Regions from separate parts of the Homo sapiens genome. Here regions 2 and 3 are each linked to region 1. The links are contacts of gene promoters, found by promoter capture Hi-C in blood cells and fetal thymus (Javierre and others, 2016). All regions are on one chromosome and are shown on one strand. Each heading gives the region's core, a stretch centred on a gene start or on the middle of the fragment in contact. The rest is flanking DNA. Distances are from core to core; before and after follow the strand shown. Region 1 holds the start of CLLU1 (chronic lymphocytic leukemia up-regulated 1). Region 2 has its middle 91 kb from the start of LINC02404. Region 3 has its middle 50 kb from the start of LINC02404.

Region 1 (5,002 bases), core at 1,686-4,185:
CGCCAGCTCTACTGTGCATATGAATCCCGGGGCATCTTGTCAGTATTTATATTCTGATTCAGTGAGTCTGGGATGGGACCTGAGATTCTGCCTTTTTAACAAGCCCTCGGCAGATTCTGATGCTGCTGTTCCAGGGACCAAACTGAAGTAGCAAGATACTTAAGATTACAATATAAAATTTTACCTTCAACCCAAATATGTTATATCCTACTCCAATTCTGTATTTTTCTGATAGTTTCCTTTCTTCTCTTCTCTGATCTTTTTGTCACTTTTCTCTATTCCTGAAGAAATTAGAGCAAACCACTGCAACATAGTTTTTCTAGCATCCTTTAGCTAACTGCAATGAAATGTTAGGTCAAGTGTTATTTTTCCTTAGTTGGTAAAAAAAGAAATGTGATTTGTGGAATCTGTGGAATCTGAATGCTAAAAGAGAATTTACTCTCACCCTCCTTTATTTCCTTCCTCTGATATTTCTATTTCTCAGACCTCCCTCTTTTTTTTACCTTCTTCCTTTTTTTTTTTTTTTTTTTTTTTTGGTCACACTTGTTATACTCAATCTCTGGCACTTTTACAAAAATATTTTAAACTCTGCATTATCACTTTTCCCCAGTATTTTCTCTCCTTTTATGAAATTGAGCCCTATGGCTCATTTTATTTCCCTTAGCTTTTTAGTTAGATAGCATGACGTTATAATTCAGGCATAGTCAAAGCTGCAAACAGTAGCATAATGTTATTATACCTGAGTTAGACTGCCTGAGTTAATAGCCTAGGGTGACTAGCAGTCTTAACTTGGGTTAGATATTTAAACTTTAGGAGCTCAGTTTCTCCTCTTTAAGGTAGGATAATAGTGGTATACATATTTGGGTTATTTATGAAAAATAAATTTGACAAAAGTTAATTCACATAAAGGACTTAGCATAGTGCTTTGAATGGTGTCAGCTATATCATAATTAAAGATTATTTCCCCATGGGGCTATGGGATTATCTATCTGGACAACTGAGGATGGTGGCATGTAGCCCAGCAGTTTCCTTACATGCTGTGACCCAGCAAGCTGAGCCAGCTCTGTCTTAGGCACTTCCTGGAAGCAGGCTTATTGGTGTTTTCAACACCCAGAGTGGATCATTTGTTAACTCCTTCCTCCTCTATTCCGTACATTTCTTTTTCAGTAATAATCCTGTAATAATCAGTAATAATTATGCTTTTCTTGATTCGCTCTTTAGTTTTATAACAAATACCAGTTTTAAAAAGAAGAAAGCTGTAATTTCAGTGATGTTACTTAGTCTTGTAAAAATACTTCATGTACTTAAAATTGTGTCTAAAAAGCCAAAAATATTCCAGCATGAAGTTGACACTCTGTTTTACTATTCAAAATTTTAAGCACAAGTAAAAACTCTCAGTGGTTCCATAGAATGACAGAAGCAAGCAATTTTGGTTCACTTATTTTGTCTACACAATCACTGTGTTATCATTCTTGATTTTGAATCTGTGATTTGAAGAAGAAACATGTGGTACCCCAAAGACTAGGGCCATGAAATACCCTAAGTATTTACCTGAGTCCTTAAGAGTCAGGGACTGTATACCCGAATGTTTCCCATAATCATTTTCATGTTGAATTCAATGTTTGTTAAGGAACAGGTAATAAAAATATGCAAACTTGAAAGTATTTATATATTTAAAAGCTCAGTGGTGACCACAACAATTATTTAGAATTCAAACCAAGAAAATGTTTTTTCAGGGAAGAGTATTTGACCACTAGTATGATTTAGAATTATGATGCATGGCAATAATTATACCAAACTGCATTTCAGTGACTCTATTATTTTTTCAGATTCTCTACAGACAGTGCAGCCTAGTATCTCCCAGACTTGTACTTCCTATGGCCCTGCACTTGGGGCCCCACTGCCTGGTAGAAATGAAGGTTAGTGTTCGAAAGTATTTAAAGAATCCTGCTAATCCCTATTTTATCCATAAATGTCATCTGTCATAAAGAAACTTTTAGCAGTTTCTCAACTTCTGAGAGGTCTTGTGGGAGGTTTTGCCATAAAGTGCTCTTGTTGAGCTCTTGATATCTATAAGCTGATGCCCTGGGCTTGTCCCAAATGATGCCTCCCACCCATTCATCAGCAGGACACTATCCCAGTTCACACACCTATGCCCCATCTCCACATATGTTTCACCAAAACCATAAATTTTGAAATAGAGTCAATATAAATGTATAACATATTGTATTAGGGCTCTTCAGAGAAAAAGAACCAATAGTATATTTGTGTGTGTTTGTGTATGTGTGCGTATACAGTCATGCACTACACAATGACATTTCAGTCTACAAAGGATTGCATATATGATGGTGATCCCATAAGATTATACCATATTTTTACTGTACCTTTTCTACATTTAGATATGGTAGATACATACATACTTATCATGATGTTATACATACTTATCATGAGGTTACAAGCTACACCATGTAGCCTAGATGTGTAGTAGTCTATGCTGTCCAGGTTTGTGTAGTTACACTCTATGATGTTTGCACAATGATGAAATCACTTAACAATGCATTTCTCAGAACCTGTCTCCATTGTTAAGCAATGCATAACTGGATATGTAAATAAAATGGAAATTGACTCACACAATTATGGAGGCCAAGAAGTCCCATGATCTGCCATCTGCAAGCTGGAGAACCAGGAAACCTGGCAGTGTAATTCAGTCCAAGTCCAAAGAACTGAGAACCAGGGAAGCCAAAGGTGTAACTCCTGGTTTAAGTCTGAAGGCCCACTCACATCCAAGGGCAGGAGAAGATGATATACTAGATCAAGAAGAAAAGAAGCAAATTTTCCCTTCCTCTTTTTGTTTTATTCAAGCTTTCGACAGATTGGATGATGCCTGCCCTTATTGGTGAGAGCCGTCTGCTTTACTAAGTTCACCAATTCAAATGCTGATCTCTTCCGAAAACACTCTTATGGACACACCCAGAATAATGTTTTACCAGCTACCTGGTCATCCTTTAGCCTAGCCAGGTTGATGCATAAATTTAATTATCACACATATAGTCTTACCAATTAGTGACCTTTTCATTCTTTATGGTATTTAACAGTGAAGATTTGTAGATGGTCTGTCTACTTGGTTTTATAGGTTTTGATCAGCACTCAGAAGCTCAGTTTGATCACCCTAGTTTGGCCTGAGCTGAAAGCACTGAAACAGTGAGTTCTTTGGGTCTTACTTCTAGAAACCAGGAAATGAGAGAGATAGTGACTTGGTTTCTCTTATGTTTCCCTTTTGTTCTCTTCTCAGTGGCCTTGCTAACAAGTTTACCTCCAAACTATGAGATTTCAGAAGGAAAACCAAGAGCCATCTCTGCATATGTGAGAGCGGGCAAAGGAAATGTGACAAGGAGAAGAAAGAAGACACACTTGGGCAATGATGATGGGAAGAAGGAAGCACAGGAGAAAATGTAAGAAATGTACAGGTGAGAGAGATCAGGAGAAAGATGGGAAATGTGGGAGAGCAGCAGGAATCATAACAATAATAATGCCAATTTGGAAACGAGAACCAGTGTATAAAGCATACCAATAAGGCCAACGAAGTGCCAACGATGGAAAGCCACCCTATCAGGAGAAAGTAAAGTCATAGCAGATGTTTTATGAGACAGCTCAGAACACAATGACTGACCAAGAAAGCGGCACAAGTTAGAGGTGGAGAAATGACCCAGACCCAGACCTTTAGGGGTCCTGAACTTGGTTCATACCTCATGTCAGAAGGAGTAGTGACCAAAAGAAATTCTCTTTGCTTTAATTATAGAAGCAGGAATATACCTGATTTTGTATGTAACAGCATATGTTTAAGATCTGAATATTTCTATACCCAAAAGCATAATGTATTAGGGTTAATCATTTGAAATTGCCAATATGCACTCATTTTACCTATAAAAACTGTAATTTTGCATGGTTCAAACTAATAGATATGAAGATATTCTCAAGCAAACTTTTTTTTCTTTTGCCTTGAAGCCCATGAGGAAGATCCAAAGAGAACTTTGGCCTTAACTAAGCTTCCTACATTCTCCTGGAGTCGGTGGTTTATGAATGTGGTGCCATCTGGGGAACTGACAACCCCTGATGTGTTCACTCTGCTCGTCTTCCAGGTGAGAGAAGAAGAAGGCGAGAAAGAAAGAGAAGTTCCAGAATTTCACAGGCTGAGGGAGATGGTAGTAACTTCTGTTTATGTTGGTTTCTGTTTATTGGTTTGCTTTTTATTTTGAACTCGTTTGACTTCAGGTTCCAGATTTGTTTTTTTCTTTGTAAACGAGACTTTGACATTGTTAGCAGGCCCATCTGTTTGCTTTTCTTAAATAAAATGTAAATTGGTTTTTGTTTTAAATTTCAGGTGCTTTTAAGTTTGACTCTGCTATTCATTTCCTAAGGTAGTTTGGGCATGGTAGTGCTGGTAAGAACAGAGAAATCTTGCTTTATAGAATCTTTTTGTTCAAATGAATGTACATTTTTAGTATTCGAAAATTATCAGTTTTAATAGGTTTGATTTTCCTGTCTATAATCTGTGTTTTCTTCCTTATTCCCTCATTCTTTCCTATCCCATGGGCTCAGATTTATGCTCTGATCAAATTTCTTTTCATATCTTTCCACCTCACAACACACACAAGAAACCTAATACAAGCCACTATCTGTTTCTTTTTCAATGGAAAAGAAAAGGATTCCTATGGGATCATACTGATTCCTGTGGGCCCCTTGCATAAAAGATTGTAGTGCATTAAATAATGACCCTCCATTGGCCAATCAATCATTATTGAGCACCTAGTTTATGTGGAATACTGTTCATACAATATCTTGAGTAATGATGGGAACAGATTTCATGAGAGATGTTGAAATACTCATGGACATAGACTATCTTGGCAATTATGCTCTTGAGATTCTTTTATAATGGACACATATTTGGAACAGAAAAAAGCTGGAAACTTTCACAAAGGTTTGATCCAATGGCTTTTTAAAC
Region 2 (5,002 bases), core at 721-3,220, 640 kb after region 1:
GAATGACTCCATCTTAACCTAGGAGGTAATGAAAACATGCGAAGTCTGACATCTGAGAAAGGGTCTGTGATTGAAATCTGAAAACCTGTAGCTGCATTGAGAATGAAGGACCTTTGTACTGTTTCATTTTCCCTCTTGCAGAGGTGTGCAATTGCTGTCACAAGATTGGATTTATGTTGGAACATTTCCCCTGCCCCTTCAATTTTTTTTTTTTTTGCATGAGATCTACATGAAGATCATTAAATGTCCTTATTAAGCCTGCCTGAACCAGAGGACAATGACCTTTTTCATGTTCTGTCATTTGTTAGGTGGGTTTGTCCCAGTCTTCTGGCTTTGTTTTCTCAGGGAGGGAAAAATAAGAGCCAATCAAACTGTAAGATTCTGACTGGGTTAAAACCAGGCCAGGGTTGCTTAAGCAGTGCTAACACTTGCATGGATCATTTTCATGACAAAGATTGAAAGGAGTATAGAAAATAGCACAACGGGATTCAATTCACGTGACAAAAGGAAATTGTGCAAAGTTTAATCCATTCCCATTACAGTCTCAAGATTGTAATCTCCTTGGATGCTGAGCCCAGGAAAGATTATTTTTTTCTACAATATGCATCATCAAGTTGCTTTAGAAGTGGTGCTGTGGGCTGGAGGGAGGCAGCACAAGTTATATAACATGCAATTTAGGATAATGGCCTTTGAAAAGAAGAAATTGATATAAACAGACGAGGCCAACAAAGCTTCAGTCATCTAGAAGGTAGTTTCAATCACTACTGACATTAAACAATATCACCCCCACTGAGTCTACACTATGTTTATTATCATTTAATTTCTTGCTCAAATCGGCACTTTCTTATCATAATGTCACAGGGATTGCAAGCTCTGTTGTGACTACAATTGGTAGAAAACCTCATTCATCTAAATAAGTAACAGGATACAGAAATTGAGCTCTCTATCTTCACCTTCTGTGACTTTAAATATTCTACCAAAAACATTAGCAAAAATGGAAGCTACAGTGTTTTCACAATTATCACAGCACTGTCTTTGCTCTTGTAATGATAGAATCCATACTTTCAATCTGAGGTGCTTAATCATAGCAGCCGTCTAGTCCGCCCAACTGTGGGCTTTTAGGACTCCCATAATTATTCATTTTCACTCACTTGACAGAGGGTGTTTCCTTGAAATAATTCAGGCCACATCAGAAAATAGAATTTTAAAATCTTTTCATGTGTTCTGCTATACATAACAATACTGAATTATGCATTAATAAACCAAATTTAATTGGCTTGGAGGTGCGTATGCCCTAATTAACACTATACCGCAATACTAAAACTGATTGCTACAGACCATCAAATACACAAATGTAGACATAATGATTGTACCATTAGTGAATGAAGTTCCGCTGTCTCTTGGTCCATAAAAACCACACCTTTGCTTTTTCTTCATCTTCTCCCTTGCTTTTTTTCCTCTTCATATTCTGCCTCTGCTTTTCCTTTTCTCTCTTTTCTCATTTTTTTACAATATTTTTGGGGAATAATTTTAGATGTACAGAAGATTTGCATAGATAGTAGAGAGAGTCTGTCTTTCATCCAGTTGTCCTCTTATTTTTAGTAAAATGTATTAATGGGTAGCTACTCAGGCCTACTTTTCGTGTATTAATGGGAAGTTAATACATGATATGAAAAATAGTTAAATAAATTTAGAAAATCTGTGTCAACTCCACAGGTAGAGCCTTTACTATATAAATAGGCACTGCAAATCTGCAATGCTTAGAGCTCCTGAATTAAATGACTGTTTTACTATTCTTTTAAAATTTAATACATTATTTCCTTGCTATTGTCCCTAGGAACTTGGAGCTGTGACCATCTCTCTCTGTCTCTATCTCTTTCGTGAACTTGAAGAAAAAAAATGGTATGAGGAGATATCAAATGGAATTTAGGTGGCTGTATTAGTCCATTTTCACACTGCTATAAAGAACTTCCCTGGGGCTGGGTAATTTATAAAGGAAAGAGCTTTAATTGAGTTACAGTTCAGCATGGCTGGGAAGGACTCAGGAAACTTACAATCATGGTGGAAGGGGAAGCAGGCACCTTCTTCACAAGGCAACAGAAGAGAGAGGAACGAAGGAGGAACTTCCAAACACTTATAAAACCATCAGATCTCGTGAGAACTCACTATCACGAGAGCAGCATGGTGGAAACTGCCCCCATGATCCAACCACCTTTCTCCCTTGACACATGGGGATTACAGGTCCCTCCCTTGACAGGTGAGAATTACAATTCGAGATGAAGTTTGGGTGGGGACAGAGAGCCAAACCACATCAGTGACATTATATAATTTTTTGGTATATTTCCACTGGACTGTGCCTGTAATATGGCTTACCCACCATGGAATCCTTACTAATTCTAAACTCTCGTATTTCAATTGATTTGTTGATATGAATATTTACCCGTGTACAATGTTAACAGCAGGCAGGAACTATCTAGCTCCATCTACTCCCAGAAATAATGCTTTTAATTTTTCATTTCTAAAGGAGTATCTTCTCCTGTATTAGGTACACATTTCAAGGCTTTGATATATATTCTAATGCTTAAGAAACTTATTCAACTTGGTAGCCATGGCTACCCCACCACAAAATAAATGAATGAGTAAATAAATATAAAAATAAATAAGAATACAGGGAGCATGCTCCAAGAGTTGTACATCTTCTTGACAGAAAATCAATATACAGTAGTTGTGGAGATGGAGATCGTTGAGCTAAATTTTTGTTTACCTTCTAGATAATTCCAGTTTCTGCTGTCATTGGGATGGTAAAAAGAGAGCTTTCCCATCTCAGAAAACCTTTTGTGGGTCATGACAAGCTATTTGCAAATTATGTTCATTCAAATTCTAAATTCTGCCCAAATGCAGTTGACAGACTGTAGACAGCTAAGTTATGGGGATGGTACAAATAAATTCTGTGTATGATAATTACTTATTGATCTGCAAAGTGCCTTCTATTTGGATCTGTATTAGAATAAAGGCATGAATGTGTTGAAAGCTCATAACAATCATATTGAGAGCAACAGGGACAAGAACATCTCCTTAGCATGTATCAGGGTTTAAATATTCTTGCTAGAAGAAAAAGACTTTCTTCTCTTTCAATTTCTAAAAATATGTAGCTTTTTAAAAATTAATGGTTTCTAGTTTCCAACTCAAAGCCAGATTAAAGAAGCTTCTTTTATTTTTCTTTAACTTTTACTCTAAGTTCAGGGGTACATGTGCAGGATGTGCAGGTTTGCTGCATAGGTAAAAGTGTGCCATGGTGGTTTGCCACACAAATCATCTCATCACCTAGGTATTAAGCCCAGCATCCATAACCTATTCTGGATGCTCTCCCTCCCCCCGTCCCCAGCAGGCTCCAGTGTGTGTTGTTCCCCATCATGCATCCATATGTTCTCATCATTCAGCTCCCAATTATACGTGAGAACATGCAGTCTTTTGTTTTCTGTTCCTGCATTAGTTTGCTGAGAATAATGGCTTCCAGCTCCATCAATGTCCCTGCAAAGAGCATGGTCTCGTTCCTTTTTATGGCTACATAGTATTCCATGGTGTGTATGTACCACAGTTTCTTTATCCAGCCTGTCACTGATGGGCATTTAGGTGGATTCCATGCCTTTGCTATTGTGAATAGTGCTCAATGAACATATGCATGCATGTATCTTTATAGTATAATGATTTGTATTCCTTTGGGTATATACCCAGTAATGGGATTGCTGGGTCAAACAATATTTCTGCCTCTATGTCTTTGAGGAATCACCACACTGTCTTCCACAATGGTTGAACTAATTTACACTCCCACCAACAGTAGAAAAGTGTTCTTCTCCACAACCTCATGAACATCTGTCTTTTTTTGTCTTTTTAACAATAGCTATTTTAACTGGCATGAGATGGTATCTCACTTATGGTTTTGACTTGAATTTCTCTAATGATCAGTAATGTTGAGCTTTTTTTCATGTTTGTTGGCTGCATGTATATCTTCTTTTGAGAAGCGTTCATGTCATTTGCCCACTCTATAATGGGGTTGTTTTTGTTTTTTTTGCCTGTTGATTTGTTTAAGCTCTTTGTAGACTCTGGATATTAGATCTTTTCAGATGGATAGATTGCAAAATTTTTCTCCTATTCTATAGGTTGTCTATTCATTTTGATGATAGTTTCTTTTGCTGTGCAGAAGCTCTTTAGTTTAATTAGATTCCATTTATCAATTTTTGCTTTTGTTGCAATTGCTTTTGGTACCTTCATCATAAAATATATGCCCATGCCTGTGTCCTGAATGGTATTGTGTAGGTTCTAGGGTTTTTATAGTTTTGGGTTTACATTTAAGTCTTTAATACATCTTAAGTTGATTTTTGTACATGGTATAAGGAGGGGTCCAGTTTCAATTTTCTGCATATCGTTAGCCAGTTATCCCAGCACCATGTATTAAATAGGGAATCCTTTCCCCATTGCTTGTTTTTGTCAGGTTTGTTGAAGATAAGATGCTTGTAGGTGTGCAGTCTTATTTCTAAGTTCTCTATTCTTTTCCATTGGTCTATGTGTCTATTTTTGTACCAGTACCATGCTGTTTTGGTTACTGTATCCCTGTAGTATCGTTTGAAGTCTGGTAGCGTTATACCTCCAGCTGTGTTCTTTTTGCTTAGGATTGTTTTGGCCATATGGGCTCTTTTTTGGTTCCATATGAATTTTAAAATAGTTTTTTTTCTAATTCTGTAAAGAATGTCAATGTAATTCTGTAAAGAATGTAGTTTAATTGAATTAGCATTGAATCTATAAATTGCTTTAGGCACTATGGCCATTTTCATGATACTAATTCTTCCTATCCAGGAGCATGGAATGTTTTGTCATTTGTTTTTATCATCTCTGATTTCTTTGAGCAGTGGTTTGTAGTTCTCCTTGAAGAGGTCCTTCACTTCCCTTGTTAGCTCTATTCCTAGGTATTTTATTCTTTTTGTGGCAATTGTGAATGGGAGTT
Region 3 (5,002 bases), core at 1,423-3,922, 600 kb after region 1:
TGACTGTGGTATCACAGGGAAGTGGATATATTTAAGACACATTTAGGTATTAAAATAGACATCAACTGGTAAATAAAGTGGCGTTGGGGCTTTTAAAATATCCTGGCTTTTGCATCATGAAGCAAAGTGGGTAAAGAAGCATGCTGAAAAGATGAGCAAGAAGAGTTAGGTTTGAGATTGCAGTTATATATATAAGTCTGAATTTACAATAAAGAATGAGAAGAAAGAGTGTCCAGGGTGGAGCTATCGGGAATTCTAACAAATAGAGGTTAAGTAGGGAAGGATGAACCAAAAGAGCTTCTTGACAAGGAGAGACTAAAGAAGTAAGAGGAAAACTAGCAAAAGGTGGAATCATATATGCCAAAAATAAAGAGTTTCTTTCAAAGAGAGAATCATGGTAAGTTATGTTGAATACTTCTGAGATGTCCAAACTGTCTAAGAAGTATCTGCTATGCTTAGTCATAGATTGGTCATTGTGAGCTTAGCAAGAGAAGTTGTAGTAGCAAAATAAGAGAAGTCAGAATGGAAGTAGTAAGAGAGTTAATAGGAGACAGGAAGTAGGCATCTTTTCCAGGCATTTGGCTGGGAAAGATAGGCAAGAGAAAGGATGGTAACTGAAGAGAGTTATCAGGTCATGGAACTTTTGTTTGTTTTTAAAGGTTACTAGGGTTGCTAGGCCTTTGAATGCCGATAAGAAAGATCTAATAGAAAAATGAGAGATAATTTGAAGAACCATGCATAAGAAGTTATTACCAAAGAAAAGAGGTCTCTGAAGGAGGGAGAAGGAATGGCATGCACACACAGGCAGAGGGATGAGTCTTAGGAAAGGGACACTGATTCTATAGCTACATGAGGGGAAATAGAAAAGGATGGATCCAGGTAAGATAGGTTGTAAATCCAGTTGAAGGGAAATGAAAGAGTCTCTATTTGATGGTGGCAACCTGTAGAGAGTGGAGATAGAAACTATGTGGAAAGAAGCGGCCACGTTGCATCATGAGTTTTTAATTATGTCAATTATCTAGTTATATAATTTCCCCTCGAATCCAAACTTCTTAGCATAATGATTCTCAAATGGTGATTTTCTTTAGAAGCATGGGAAAGCTTTTCTCTGAACTGAATCTCAGAACTAATGATTTAAAACCTCTGAGTATGACATATACCATATGTCTTTTTACAACTTCCATAGTTTTTCTTTGCCTTTAATGAATAGAACACACTGTCATAACATACAAGGCTCTTCACGGTTAGACTTTCTACCTGTCCATCTTCACCTCTCACTATGCCTTGCTTTGAAACCTGTATACCAACAATAACAAACCACGTGTTATTAGCCACTCTCCTCCCCACCCAATGCACCAAATTAATCATCATTTTCCCACTACTGACTTTGAATGGAGAACCAAACAAGTAGCACATCTAAATTACTTATAGAGAATACTTAATTCCACATCACCATTTGCAGAACACAGAGAAATTCTCATGTTCTTTTTTATATCTCTCCCTAGCAAAGTGTCTGGCCTGCATTGTTTATATGCCTTTGGTAAAAGGAGTTCAGATCATAATAATTGGGGTTGAAGAACACTGAATAGATTGACAGCTCTGGGTGGAAGCACAAAACAGAATTAACGAGTTGTTGAATCCAGTCTAGAGTCAGTGTACTAGTCTAACTAAGGCAGGGAGAAGAAAATCAAGCCAAATTCAACCCAAGAGGGCCTGACCTCTATGAAGTTACACAGCACCAAGAGGTGTGATGTTTCATAGATACAAAGAGGGCAGATGTTTTCAGAATGGAGAGAGAATAATCAGATGGGCAACTGCTGCAGTCATGTCAGATAAGAACTGAGATTTATCCATTGTCTTTGGAAATACAAAAGTCCTTAGTGACCTTTGCAAGAACAGTTGCAGTGGAACTAGAGAACAAAAGGCAGATCACAGCACGGTGAGGAGTAAATTGCTTATTATGAAGTACAGATAGCACGTAGCAGGAAATTTTTTAAGAAGCTCGACAGTAAAAAAGTAGAGGTAGAGGGGAATATGGTGTCCTTGAAAGGCATTTCTTTATTGAACTATGCATATATACTCAAACATGTACATAAATTTTAAGAAAAGATCCAGAAGAGAGAAAGAAAAGAAAAGAAGAGTGTGTGTGAGAGACAGAATCCTAAGGAGAGAGAGAGGAAGCAAAAGAAAAAAAGAAGAAGAGGACTGGGGGAGAAAAGACAGAGTACCTGACGAAATAAAGTCTCAAAAGAGAAATTGGAATTCACAGGTGAAAGAACTTGGAGTAGAAAGAGAAAATCCCCTTTCACAAAGACAGGAGGAGATTCTGGGAGAATGTGGTGATTAAAATGTACTCAAAGCACTAGGAGATAAAGGTGGAAGGAACTTTTGTTCTATGGTCTCATTTTAATCAAATAGAATATAACATCCATAACTAAGGGTGAGGGAGGAGGAGTCAAGAGAAATGTAGCCTGGCAACAACTGAGATTGGAGACCATGAATCTGAAATGTCCCTGGTTATGTGATTTTATGCTAACAGCTCTCAGCATCAAGAATTCTGCCTGTATATTGTGGATATTTATGTGCAGTATTGTTCTTTTAATTTCAGTGATATACAGCAATATCTCTTATTGGATGGGGTCCTTTTTAAAGCCATAATAAATGCCAATTTTGATTCCTCCAAGGACACTACTAGAAGGATTTAACATGAGCTCCACATATGAAATGATCATGAAATATGTCATCTAAGAAATCTTGCAAATTGCACTGCATAAACAGATGGCACAGCTTTGCAATATAAGCAGCAATGCCCTCACCAGCTGTTGATTTTCTTTGCAAAATTTAAATCACTGCACAATGGCTGCTGGTGCTGATGAGAAGTGTATCTAAAATAATCCCACAAGTTCCACAAATGATTAAATGTCCTAGGTTTAGAAGAGATTGGGGTAAAAAGATACTTTATTATTGTACATGTTTGAGCTGCAGAGATTTTCAGAAAATATCAAACTTATGTTTGGATATACTTCAAAGTAGGGAGGAAAAAGCTCATTCCTTTATATGTAGGAAGCCATCTGACTGTATAAATGCCTCCATTCTGCCCTAACCCTCTGCCTTCACTCTGGCATCTGTGATATTTTACTATCCCTGAACGCCTTTGCTCTGTTTTCTTCTTTGATTTTTCTGTCTTCTATTATCCTTGACATTTAGGGAATTTTCAAGCATCCTGGGTCTTCTCTTTGTATGTGCTGTTAATTGCCTAATCCCTCTCTTGCCTCCCCTTAAACTATAGCCTGCATGCTGTCATCCAAGGAGAGAGTCCATAAAAAGCTGAGAATGTAGATCTGAAGTTTAGGAGAAAGGAGGAGGCTGTAAACACACAGAGTTAAGGAGGTTAATGTATATGTAGAAGAAGTCATACCCTTCTTTCTCTTCTCCATTTGACAAATCCCTACACATCTGTGCAGACTCAGCTATAATACTAACAAGATAATAATAATAAATAATTCATGAATTTTTCTATGTGTCAAACACTAAGCATTTTAAATGTATCAGCACACTTTATCTAACCCCAAATTCAGTGCTATCATCGTGGTTACCTGTATGACTATATTTACCTTCCCTAGTAGACATTAAACTTTTTTAAGGAGAGAGAAATTATATCACTTATATTTTTGTCCCCTATGGGACTTCTTGTATTTTCTGTATTGAATATGTAAAAAGCATGTTTGTTGAATGACAAGATAAGAAAAAAGAAAAGGAATGCACAAAATTGTTTTAAAAGTTAAAATGATTAACTATATACTTAAAATCATGCTTTTTCATATAAATTGTGAGTTCTTTGAGAATAAGATGTGTTTGTCTGTTTCCCTCAAAATACCAGGTACATTGTAGATACTCAATACACATTTGTTGGTTGATTGGTTAAAACCTGCCAGAGTGCTATTTTACCCTAGAAAGTGGAAAGCTAAGGGATATATAATCTAACTCAAAGTCAGAATTCACTGAGTACCTGCTGCATCCCTTCCCACAGACCATTTGTCAGGCATGTTGTTTGATTCTTTGGATGTGATTTTACTGAAAGTGGTTTGGATAGTGACCACTGGGCACCACCCCATTGCTGAATCTCCACTAGTCACTGTGACTAGCAACTTACATTCCATTCTGTTTCTCTTCATTCCTGTTCAAATCATCTACCACTGTGGCACTATTGTGGATATCTTTTGCATCTATTGAAGAAAGCTTACAGTTTACATTAAAGATGACTTAAAGCAAGTTGCACATTAATAGTGGACACTTTAAATAAAAGTGTATACTATAACTATTTTGTGAGAATTAATTTACAAAACAGTTAATTTCTATCTATGGATGACAATGTGTACTTACACTAGAAATAATCACAAAAGCCTACACTGGTGAAAATGAAGAAACAAGATATTCAACTAAATAACACAGGTCGACTTATTTTTGTGCAGCTATTAGAAATCATAAAATGAAAGGTGTAATAAATCAAAAGATTATTTATTGTTCAAACTGACTTTAAGTTCATCTGTGAGGAGATGGTATTTGCAACTGGAATATGAACTATGTTTTCTTCTGAAAAGCAACCATACAATTCGGTGCTGATTGGTACATAGCGAATGACATTTGAGTTCCAAAAACAAATCTATCTCTAATTTTTTGCCAAAAATAAGAACAAATTCTAATTATGAAAAGAAAGTCTCTTTGTTTTGAGAGGCTAGTAACTGAGTTTTCACTACATAATTTCTACCTTTTCTCCCAGTGGGGCTATATCATCATGCAAGATATGAATGCATCATCATCATTTTACCTGGAGAAGTGCCATGGGTTTTCTAGAAAATTTGCATCTCTAGAATTTAGACTGGAGACACCTTGTATGTCATAATTCTGTGATCCTGGCTTTTAAATTTGTATTCTTATGATTTTGGCTTTCTGGGATAACTTTCTGTTCTCCCTTTTCTAATACCTAGCAAAGATTGGATAT

The links. The method cuts DNA at HindIII sites, captures the fragments that hold promoters and counts their contacts. A CHiCAGO score of 5 or more calls a contact.
Region 2: a fragment that was not itself captured here is called in contact with the fragment with the promoter of CLLU1 in region 1 in 1 of 17 cell types (neutrophils); the score reaches 5.3 in neutrophils.
Region 3: a fragment that was not itself captured here is called in contact with the fragment with the promoter of CLLU1 in region 1 in 1 of 17 cell types (neutrophils); the score reaches 5.1 in neutrophils.

The regions. Positions count from the first base shown.
Region 1 is chr12:92,419,464-92,424,465 of GRCh38, reverse strand. CLLU1 (chronic lymphocytic leukemia up-regulated 1) reads right to left here and starts at 2,935. Exons shown (of 2, transcript NR_027933.1): 1 at 2,631-2,935. CLLU1-AS1 (CLLU1 antisense RNA 1) reads left to right here. Exons shown (of 3, transcript NR_144319.2): 2 at 3,293-3,452; 3 at 4,006-4,380. The HindIII fragment of the contact is 1,184 bases long and covers 2,865-4,048 here.
Region 2 is chr12:91,781,924-91,786,925 of GRCh38, reverse strand. No RefSeq gene overlaps it. Among named protein-coding and RNA genes, the nearest start is that of LINC02404, 91 kb to the left of the region's middle. The HindIII fragment of the contact is 2,474 bases long and covers 734-3,207 here.
Region 3 is chr12:91,822,983-91,827,984 of GRCh38, reverse strand. No RefSeq gene overlaps it. Among named protein-coding and RNA genes, the nearest start is that of LINC02404, 50 kb to the left of the region's middle. The HindIII fragment of the contact is 3,138 bases long and covers 1,104-4,241 here.